2 separate regions of the Homo sapiens genome follow, and region 2 is linked to region 1. Evidence: promoter capture Hi-C in 16 types of primary human blood cells and fetal thymus (Javierre and others, 2016). All regions are on one chromosome and are shown on one strand. Each heading gives the region's core, a stretch centred on a gene start or on the middle of the fragment in contact. The rest is flanking DNA. Distances are from core to core; before and after follow the strand shown. Region 1 holds the start of ANKEF1 (ankyrin repeat and EF-hand domain containing 1). Region 2 overlaps TASP1 (taspase 1).

Evidence for each region. The method cuts DNA at HindIII sites, captures the fragments that hold promoters and counts their contacts. A CHiCAGO score of 5 or more calls a contact.
Region 2: a fragment that was not itself captured here is called in contact with the fragment with the promoter of ANKEF1 in region 1 in 1 of 17 cell types (naive CD8 T cells); the score reaches 5.4 in naive CD8 T cells.

What each region holds. Positions count from the first base shown.
Region 1 is chr20:10,032,976-10,037,711 of GRCh38, forward strand. It overlaps ANKEF1 (ankyrin repeat and EF-hand domain containing 1), which reads left to right and starts at 2,012. Exons shown (of 11, transcript NM_022096.6): 1 at 2,012-2,358; 2 at 2,604-2,667. The region is part of intron 3 of SNAP25-AS1 (SNAP25 antisense RNA 1); the gene reads right to left. RefSeq lists a silencer at 1,803-2,352. The HindIII fragment of the contact is 1,358 bases long and covers 1,420-2,777 here.
Region 2 is chr20:13,625,520-13,630,801 of GRCh38, forward strand. It overlaps TASP1 (taspase 1), which reads right to left. Exons shown (of 14, transcript NM_017714.3): 2 at 4,415-4,633. The coding sequence starts at 4,559. Among named protein-coding and RNA genes, the nearest start is that of TASP1, 11 kb to the right of the region's middle. RefSeq lists a silencer at 1,283-1,577. The HindIII fragment of the contact is 1,665 bases long and covers 2,743-4,407 here.

The DNA of each region.
Region 1 (4,736 bases), core at 762-3,261:
ATTAATAATTAGTAATCAGGTCACGTAAAGTAAATTATAAAAGAGCATTGATACCAAGATTGGCAGAAAGTTTTTTGTGTGACAAAACCAAGTTTTGGCTAAGATACACACTGCTGATGGGAGTCTAAATTGCTGTATATGTCGGGAAAACAAGTTGTCTTTATCTTGATGTTATAAATAACCTATGACCCAGAAATTTAACTCCTAGACATATACTCTAGTGAAACTCTTGAACGTGTGCGTCCAAAGACATTTATAAACATGATCTTAGTAGTATTGCTTTTAGTAGCAAATTCTGGAAACATCCCAAATGTCTATCAATAGTGGAATTGATTTGAAAGGGGTGTGGAATGGTAATATAATGGAATAGCCTACAGCTGTTTAGATAAAGGAACTCCAATTAAACATACCAACAAAGATACATTTCAAAAACAAGACGTTGAAAGGAAAAAAGTCATCAAAACAATACACAACATTCTACCACATTTTTATAAATTCTCAAAATATGCAATATTAAACATGCATTATTTAGGGAGGCATTCAATGTAGCAATGCATTTTTAAGAGGCTGGGATGATAAATGTAAAATTCAGAACAGGTATTATCTCTGGGAACAGGAAGAGGAGGATGCAGTGTTGGGAAGAAATACATATAAGTACAGCAGTAGAGGCAGACTTTTTTTTCCTTTTCCTTTTTCCTTTATTTTTCCTAGCTTTCTTTTTCTTTAGCTATGGTATTTCTTTAGCTATGGTATGGTATGGTATGTACTTTCCATATATCATACAGTATATTTTGGTGTGCATGAAATAGTCCTTAATAACATTTTTATTATTTTTTATTTGACGTTTAAGTTCAGGGGTACATGTGCAGATTTGTTATATAGGTAAACTTGTGTCATGTGGTTTTGTTGCACAAATTATTTTCTCACCCAGGTATTAAGATTAGTACCCATTAGTTATTTCTCTTGATCCTCTCCCTCCTCCCACTCTCCACCTTCTACCCTCCAATAGGCCCCAGTGTGTGCTGTTCCCCTCTATGTGTCCATGTGTTCTCATCACTTAGCTCTCACTCATAAGTGAGAACATGCAGTATTGGGTTTTCTGTTTCTGCGTTAGCTTGCCAAGGATAATTGCCTCCAGCTCCATATTCCTGCAAAAGACATAATTTTGTTCCTTTATATGGTTGCATAGTATTCCATGGTGTATATGTACCGCATTATCTTTAGCCAGTCTATCATTGATGAGCACTTAGGTTGATTCCATGTCTTCGCTCTTAACATTTTTAAACAGTCTCTGAGTAGAATAGGGTAGGCTGGTGTAAGGAATTACTGTTTTTAATTGGAAGCAATTACATACTGCATTAAAAAGCATATATATATAGACACACATATATATGTTTTACATTCACATAATCAAACCAAAGCTTTCAGAATTTTCCGCCAAAAAGCATGTGTGGAGGGAGAGAGAGGGGTGTTATGGTGCATTTGTAGGCCCTGAAATAAAGTGATCTCCATATTTGCTTCCATTTGTGTATAAATATTTTTTAAGCATATATGCATCCTAGAGTATGGAAAGAAAATTTCTGGGAAGATTTGCAAGAATCTGTGGCAGTTGAGAGTAGGTTCACTTTCGCTTTATTGTGTAATTTATTGTATTTTTCATTTAATTGTACTTTGTAAACTAAATATTTATTGTATATTTTACTTCATTTTTTAATTGCCATATGCAGCTTTAATTTTATAACTAAATTACGTTCTGACCCAGGGCAGGAGGTGGGAGAAGAGAATGAGAGAAGGGCGGAATCCTCAAGACAGCAGCATTCTGCGCTCCGCCCTGGAACACCCAGCGCAGCTACCCCATCCCGCCCAGGCCGGCCACCTGGCGTCGAAGCCAGGCGCGAGGGGCGGAGGCGGAGGCGGGGGCGGGGGCGGAGGCGGAGGCGGAGGCGGAGGCGGAGGCGGAGGCGGAGGCGGAGGCGGAGGCGAGCACCGCCCCACCGCGCACGCTGCGGTTGCCCCGGCAGCCGCGCCCTGCGTGGCGGAAGCTCACAATCAGCCCGGTCCCTCCGGCTTCCACCCCGCCCCCTGCGCTCACCTGCCCGCGCGCTCGCCTTCCGGGGACCCGGGGCCCATGGACACATACACCCAGCCCTGCTGTCCCGCGCGCCAGCTCACCAGCCCTACCCAAGGGACATCATTCACGCCTGGGCGCCTCCGCCGGGCTCCGGGAGCCCAAGGTCGCGGCTGGGCCAGCGCTGAGCGTCAGAGGACGAGAGCAGGGGCCTCCCCGGTCGCCCCAGCAGGCCCAGGCACATAGGTGCCCAGAGATCCCTGGCTTCTGATCGCCCGGAAGACTAAGAGGTGAGCATGACACATGGCTTTTCCTTTGACGTTACATCTCTACCCCCTCCACTCCTCTCTTCTCCAGATTTTTCTGGAGACTAAAAAGTGGAAAGCACAGTAGAGAACCCCCAACATGTAAACTATCGCTTACACTTGTGGGTGAGCTGAAACCCGCAAAAGTTTGGTGTATTCATAAGGAGCCTATATTGAAGGACTTTGCTAAATGTTTTACAAGGATCATATCTCATTTCCTTTTCACACAGTCCCATGAAGTGGGCACCATTGCTATTGCCAGTTCACAGATGCAGAAACTGAGGTAAAAACTAGGTAGGTAGCATATCCATATTTATATCCAACTAGTTTGTGTAAATAATGATACAGGGAAGGGAGGATCACAACGGATTTCCCCACCTCAAACCCTACATTCCACTGTACCAAGCTTGTCTTCCTCCATTCCTCTTTCTAATGATCCTTCCTTGTCGCACAGCCCCCCTTTGAGAGTTAAATGACCTGAACACACACAGATTCCCACAGATTTTCATGTAATTTCCGAGTATTCAGACCCCGAACATGGACCTCAAGTCAAGACATTCTGCTCTATTCCACTACCTTGGTAGATGGTTAGATGTGACTAAGGTGGCCCAGGGTCATGCTGGGGAAAAGTACAGGTGTGCTTGTATGTGGAGGATCCTATATGCTGCTCAATTTACAAGGAACCCAGGACCCAAGGGCTACACTTGTGTGATTTCCTGCAGTGGGGTGAGCTCTTGGTCAGTCTTAGCAGTTGATTGTGAAGGACACTATACAGGGTGCTGCCCTCTCCCCAGCACTTCAGGGCTTTAGCTGGGAGGGAGGCAGTCCACAGGAAACCGACCCATGGACCTACTGAATTCATCACTGTAGCTGCTAATTAATTCTCCGTTAGAGATGGGTGCTAACAGAGGCAACATTGAAGTCCCTGATTGGGAAATCCTTATTTTCACAAATCAAGTGGCATTGATTCAGTCTAATCATTACCTATGTAGGAGCATCTTGCCCTATTCCATAGATGACACATATACATATGCAGTATGATGACACCGCACCTAATCGGAATATGGCCGATAATAATAAAACAAGCCATAAATAGCAGCTAAGGTGAGTGTCACCAAGCCGTGCAGCAAAGTCCAAGTGGATGACTCTGAGGCAGCCTCAGTTGGTTCCCTAGTCCACCGCATGTTATAAACAGATTAAAAGGCAAAGGAGGCCTGGCCCGGTGGCTCACGCCTGTAGTCCCAACACTTTGGGAGGCTGAGGCGGGTGGATCACCTGAGGTCAAGAGTTCAAGATCAGCCTGGCCAACATGGTGAAACCCTGTCTTTACTAAAAATACAAAAATTAGCCAGGTGTGGTGGTGGGCACCTGTAATCCCAGCTACTCGGGAGGCTGAGGCAGGAGAATCGCTTGAACCCAGGAGGTGGAGGTTGCAGTGAGCCGAGATTGTGCCACTACACTCCAGCCTGGGTGACAGAGTGAGAGTTGGGCTGAGGGTCGAGGGTCATGGGATAGGGCGAGACACCAGGGGAGTGTGTGAGGACAGAAAAGAGTCTTGAGGACCTAGCCCTGGGCACCCAACATAGGCTTCTTGAAATGGGGAGTCAGCAAAGGAGCCTGAGCAGGAGGGGGCATTGGTGTTGGATGGAAGCAGGCGATGGAGATGTTGTGGTGCCTAGAGAGACACATTTAAAGGAGAGAGAGCTCACTGCCGTAGAGAATGTAGGTGAGGGAGCAGGCTTGCGATGGAGAAAAATGGTGCATAGTTTCAACTTTTGTAGTAAGATGGAATCTTTTCATTGCAAATGTTGGAAACTTAGCTAACTAGCTTATACCAAAATAAGGTGACGGGGGAGAAGATGTATTTACCCACAAAGTGGTAGATGGCTTCTGGCACCATGGAATCCATGTTGCAACTAATGCCATCAATCTCAGTCTCTCTCCATCCTCCAAGCATGGACTCTCTCTGTGGCACCCAAGAGAGCTACCTGCGCCCCAGCCCCACACCATACTGCTTAACAACTTCAGCAGAATAGTCTTCCCTCATAGTTCTGGATGATGGGCTGCTGATTGGTTGATGTCTTTTATGCACATATGCTTGAGCTTCAGTGTACCTGGAAAGGGATGGTTCCCTCAAATGGGCCAAGCCTAGGCCACAGACGCTTTCCTCTGGCAGGGGACAGAAGGGACAGCCCCATCCAAACGACCCGGATAGGATTCCCTATGTGATAATGGAGTTCTTTTCTCATAAGAAATGAAGAAACAACTGGTCATACCTAGCATGGCCTGCTACTCAATCCAAAAGATTTTCCGTACAAGGAGGTAAAATTACATACTAGAATGCCCATCACAATTTAACAGGG
Region 2 (5,282 bases), core at 2,325-4,824, 3.6 Mb after region 1:
TTTCAAGAACCTCTTTCCAAAATCAGGAGTTCTTTTGATCTGCAGCTAATAACCCAGAAGGTGTCGGGGACAGGGTCCCTCCGGGTTCCTCTCTGCTGACTGTCAGAAAGCCCCTGCCATTTGGGAAGTTACTGTTTCAAATCCAGAATTCATAAGAGTAATTCAGAAAGCTGAATCGCTTCTGAATAACATTTGAAGTTGAGGTGTCTTACATCTCGCATGTCCACAACCACCACCAATTGCACCATTCCTAAACAAACACTTCACATCCTCTCACCCACTAGAATGTAGCTCAGGGTGTCTCTGAAAGCTAAGTGACAGCACATTCATGACTCTCTATGAGAATTCCTGGTGGTCTCTGTCTTTTAATCAAATACCCAAGAACTGTCTCAAGAGAATGGCTCTGAATAAAATGGTTTCCCTACAAGGATACATAACTTGCTTAGTTAGGGACTTAAGAATAATCTAAACAAGAAGGAAACAAAGACAAGAGCCCTTAAACTCTCTTAATTAGGCCTCTCTCTAATCAAAGTTCATTAATGGAGCACTGAACCACCTATCCCTACCCACCCCTAAAGCCCCATAGGGGTCCAATGTATGGAAGGTTAAGAAATACACCTCTAGGCCAAACACAGTGGCTCATGCCTGCAATCCCAGCACTTTGGGAGGCTGAGGCGGGAGGATCACTTGAGGCCAGGTGTTTGAGACCAGCCTGGCCAACATGGAGAAACCCCATCTCTCCTAAAAATACAAAAAAAGTAGCCAAGCATGGTGGCACATGCCTGTAATCCCAGCTACTCAGGGGGCTGGGGCACGGGAATAGCTTGAACCTGGGAGGCAGAGGTTGCAGTGAACCAAGATCATGCCACTGCACTCCAGCCTACGCAACAGAGTGAGACTTTGACTCCAAAAAACAAACAAACAAACACATGTTTTCCATTTTAAAAAAGACAAAAACAGAAAAGCTACATCTCTAGGCCTTAGGATTCCTACAGGTCTGCAGACTCTGACACAAACCTAACCTACCTTTCCTCAAGGTAGAGAAAGCACTCACCCACGAAACTGTCGTACAAGGAGCCAGGAAAGCAGAGATGCCCAAGCCACCAGAATCCACAATACACCCAAATCCTAAACCTGTTTCTCAAGAGAACTCTGAACATTCACAGAGCCTGTGCCAATATTTAATAGGCCTCTCTTCATGGTTCTCTAAGAACAGGTGATCTCAAGTTGGCTGTCTTAGATCTCAGAGGCCACAATCTTTCAGCAGCATTTCCTAAAGCATGGGATACTATTCCAAAAAGATGACTTCAGTGTAAGGGACAAGGGCATTTAATAGCCTTAACATGTAAATCCTTTTGAAATAATAAAAGTCTCAGCAGAGCCCCCCCCCCACCCCGTACATCTTTAATTCCTGGTTAACACTTGCTAATTTCCCTGTTTAACAATGGAAAGGCAGGCTCAGGATCCAAGCCACTGACAAATAGGATCTAGTTAAACTTCAATTACAGTGTTTTGTTTGCACTGTGTTTAAAGTTATTTTCTCTTTATGGCAAGTGATACTGCTATTTCATTTAAGTAACCATAAACTTCATTTTTCAAATGTTAAGATTAAAAAGCGTTTAGTTGTTTGAATATTAGATAAAACAGTATAGGCAGTGGGAAAAATCAAGAATCTACTACATGAATCACAAAAGTTTGGGCAAGTCTACTCTAGTGCTAAAAAAACTGCTCTACACTGGACAAGGATATGAATTTTTGACCCTTAAATGTGCAAGATACACGCTTTTGCATAATCAATCACTCTTTCTAATAATTTAGAAGTGAGGGTCACCCTTAATTCACACAATATCCTATCATAACTCAGAGTTCCTACTCTTCTTGCTGACCCCCAGCACCAACCTTTACCTGAGAGTATGAAATTAAATAATTCAAAGTTAAAACTGTTGAACCAGCTGGGCACGGTGGCTCATGCCTGTAATCCCAACACTTTGGGAGGCCGAGGCGGGTGGATCACCTGAGTCAGGAGTTTGAGAGCAGCCTGGCCAACATGGTGAAACCCCATTTCTACTAAACATACAAAAATTAGCCGGGCATGGTGGCACGTGCCTGTAATCCCAGTTACTCAGGAGGCTGAGGCAGGAGAATTGTGAAGCTTGCAGAGTGAGCCAAGATCACACCACTGCAGCCTGGGCAACAAGAGCGAAACTTAGTCTTAAAAAAAAAAAAAAAAGTTGAGCCATTAAATCATTCTGAGCCTTGAAAGGAATGTGGCTATGCACCCTGAGTCACACAACATGCAGCTGCAACTTTTGCCTTTTTCCTGTAAATAATTAGGAAGACCAAACAACACCAGAGATAAGACCCTCTCAGATCACTGCCCCTTCTCACAAAGTAAAAAGTAATCTTCCTTAGGATGTAGCAATCTATAACCAATCAAATTGCTGTAACTTATGCACTGGTCTCCTACGGAAAATGTTACCATCCTGCTAAAATTTTTCTATCTCTACCTACATAAATGAAAACTTAACTTCTCCACTTTGGAACACAGACCCCATTTGTTTGGAGTCAGTGTTTCCCAGGTGGACATCCTCAAGCTTTGTGCATGAATAAGCTCTACCTTTAATCATAGCTTCTGAATTCCATTATTTAAGGTTGGCAGAGCCATTATCATCTAGTCTGTGTCTAAGACAGGAGGGACAGGGTCATAATAGTTATAGAAAGTAAGGCTTTCCAACTAATTGAAGCTTTATGTTATTGCTTGTTACAACTTTCAGACCTTTCTTTTACACTTTCCAAACACTCACTCTGAATACGGTAACTCACTGGTATCATGGAAGATAATGGAAGATGTACCATCAACATAGTGTAGTGGAAAGAACACAGACTAGGAGTCTGAAGGCAGAAGCTCTAGTCCCAGGTCTACTTTTAACTGGATTATTTCTGTAAATTTACCTCACCTCCTTGTAAAAGCACCTGTGAGAAAATGGGATTAAACCTGGTTTCTGGTTTTTTGGATTTGTTTAGATACTCTGGATTAGATTCACATAAGGCTTCTCGGGTTGTCCAGTCTAGATATGGCCAAACGTTAATGGCCAGGCAGGACACCAGTCTCACAAGAAGAAACATTTCTACTCCTCATTCCATATCAAAGTTAATCCTGCTGTCATCTTGCTTGACTACCCAGGGAAAGTTAAAAGGAAACCCAGACATTCTTTCTCTCTTCATGGAGGTCATGGAAAGTAGACTCTGAATACAAGAAAATAAAAATGGCCAAAGGAAAAAGAGCCTGCTGAGGAAACCTGGGCAGAGCAGCACTGTTCTGCAACCCAAGACCTTTTAAAGATGGGAGGCCCAGGGGATGAACTCCACTGTGTCTGTCCTCATGGTCCTCTGAAGTAGAAAGATCACAGGCTGACACAGCATCAAAAGCACTAGACTGAGACATAAGGGCCTACTTAGGTGTTTCTTACACTGGCTCTAGCACCAACCACCAGTGTCTGAAGTCTCTTAAGTCACTTAATCTCTCTGGTCTTAAGGTTCCTCACTTAAAATATTAAGAGGGTGGGCCGGGTGTGGTGGCTTACGCCTGTAATCCCAGCACTTTGGGAGGCCAAGGCAGGTGGATCACCCGAGGTCAGGAGTTTGAGACCCACCTGGCCAATATGGTGAAACCCCATCTACTAAAAATACAAAAATTAGCCAGACGTGATGGTGGACGTCTGTAATCCCAGCTACTCAAGAGGCTGAGGCAGGTGAATTGCTTGAACTTGGGAGGTGGAGGCTGCAGTGAGCCAAGATCACACCATTGCATTCCAACCTGGGCGACAAGAGTAAAACTCCATCTCAAAAAAAAAAAAAAAAAAGAAGGTGAACCAGCTCAAAGATTGTGTAATAATTATGCCCTAAGATACCCACAGTCTCACATGGGAATCAATACAATTTTTTCAGCAATATTTTATTTTATTTTATTGAGATGGTGTCTCGGTTTGTTGCCCAGGCTGGAGCGCAGTGGCATGATGTCGGCTCACTGCAACCTCCACCTCCTGGGTTCAAGCAATTCTCCTGCCTCAGCCTCCCACAGCAACATTATTTTTAAAAAACATAAACCAGAGTTCAAAAATTACTTTGTCTGGTTTTAATACTACCTAACCTAAATACATCTATTACATAGAGTTAAAGTAAATAATAGGTTAGGGAAGTGAAAACCTAGGAAGAGCTGCCATTCTAAGATCTTCTAACTGGGGAGTAAAGAGGGAGGTCCTCACTATATCCAAGTCAAACAATCGCTTTGCTTCCAATTCCTCTCTGGCAGTTTTGCCTCCTCCAAGTGTGAAATGTGATTCTCAGTGTACTTCAAGGCAGAAAAAGAAAAATCAACATTATTGGCATCTTCCAAGCCATCCACAAAGCTTACCTGCATGCACCAACACAAAGCCTCCTCGTTTCTCTTTATAGGACTGCTTTGTTTCCAACTCTTTGGCTGTTATTTTACCAGCCGAAACCTGAGATGATCTGGAAGGCAGCCCTTCTCCAGAACTCATCCCCTTCTCCATGGTCATTCTCCAAGATTACCATCTTCTACTGAGAAAGGGGCATACTTCCATCCAAAAGTAATTGCAGGAGAGGAATTACCCTAAAGGAAAACAGGCAAAGATGGTATACATTTCTTTCCACCAACACATAAGTTACTTACACAAATTCATGCAAAGATAATGTTCAAAAATCCTATTTTTAAGTTATTTAATTGAGCAATACAAAAAAGGTATCAAAGCTATTTATTAAAATTATTTTTTCTTATTCCCATTGAAGTCGGATAAAATTATTTAATTGGGTAATATAAAAAGGTTAGAATTTAAATCTCTCTGTCCACTGATAGTACCTGCTTAGGGGCGAGCGCAGTGGCTTACACCTGTAATCCCAGCACTTTGGGAGGCTGAGGCGGGTGGATCACCTGAGGTCAGGAGTTCGAGACCAGCCTGACCAACATGGTGAAACCTCATCTCTACTAAAAATACAAAAAATTTAGCTGGTGTGGTGGCACACACCTGTAATCCCAGCTACGCAGGAGGCTGAGGCAGAAGAATCACTGAACTCAGGAGGCAGAAGTTGCAGTGAGCCGAGATCGCACCACTACACTCCAGCCTGGGCAACAAAGTAAGCTCTGTCTCAAAAAAAAAAAAAAAAAAAAAAAGGAGTCTCAAAAAGAAAAAAGAAAAGAAAAGAAACATAAAGAAGTTACTTAGCTGCCTATTCCAAAATAAAAAAAAGCAGGTTACTCAGAA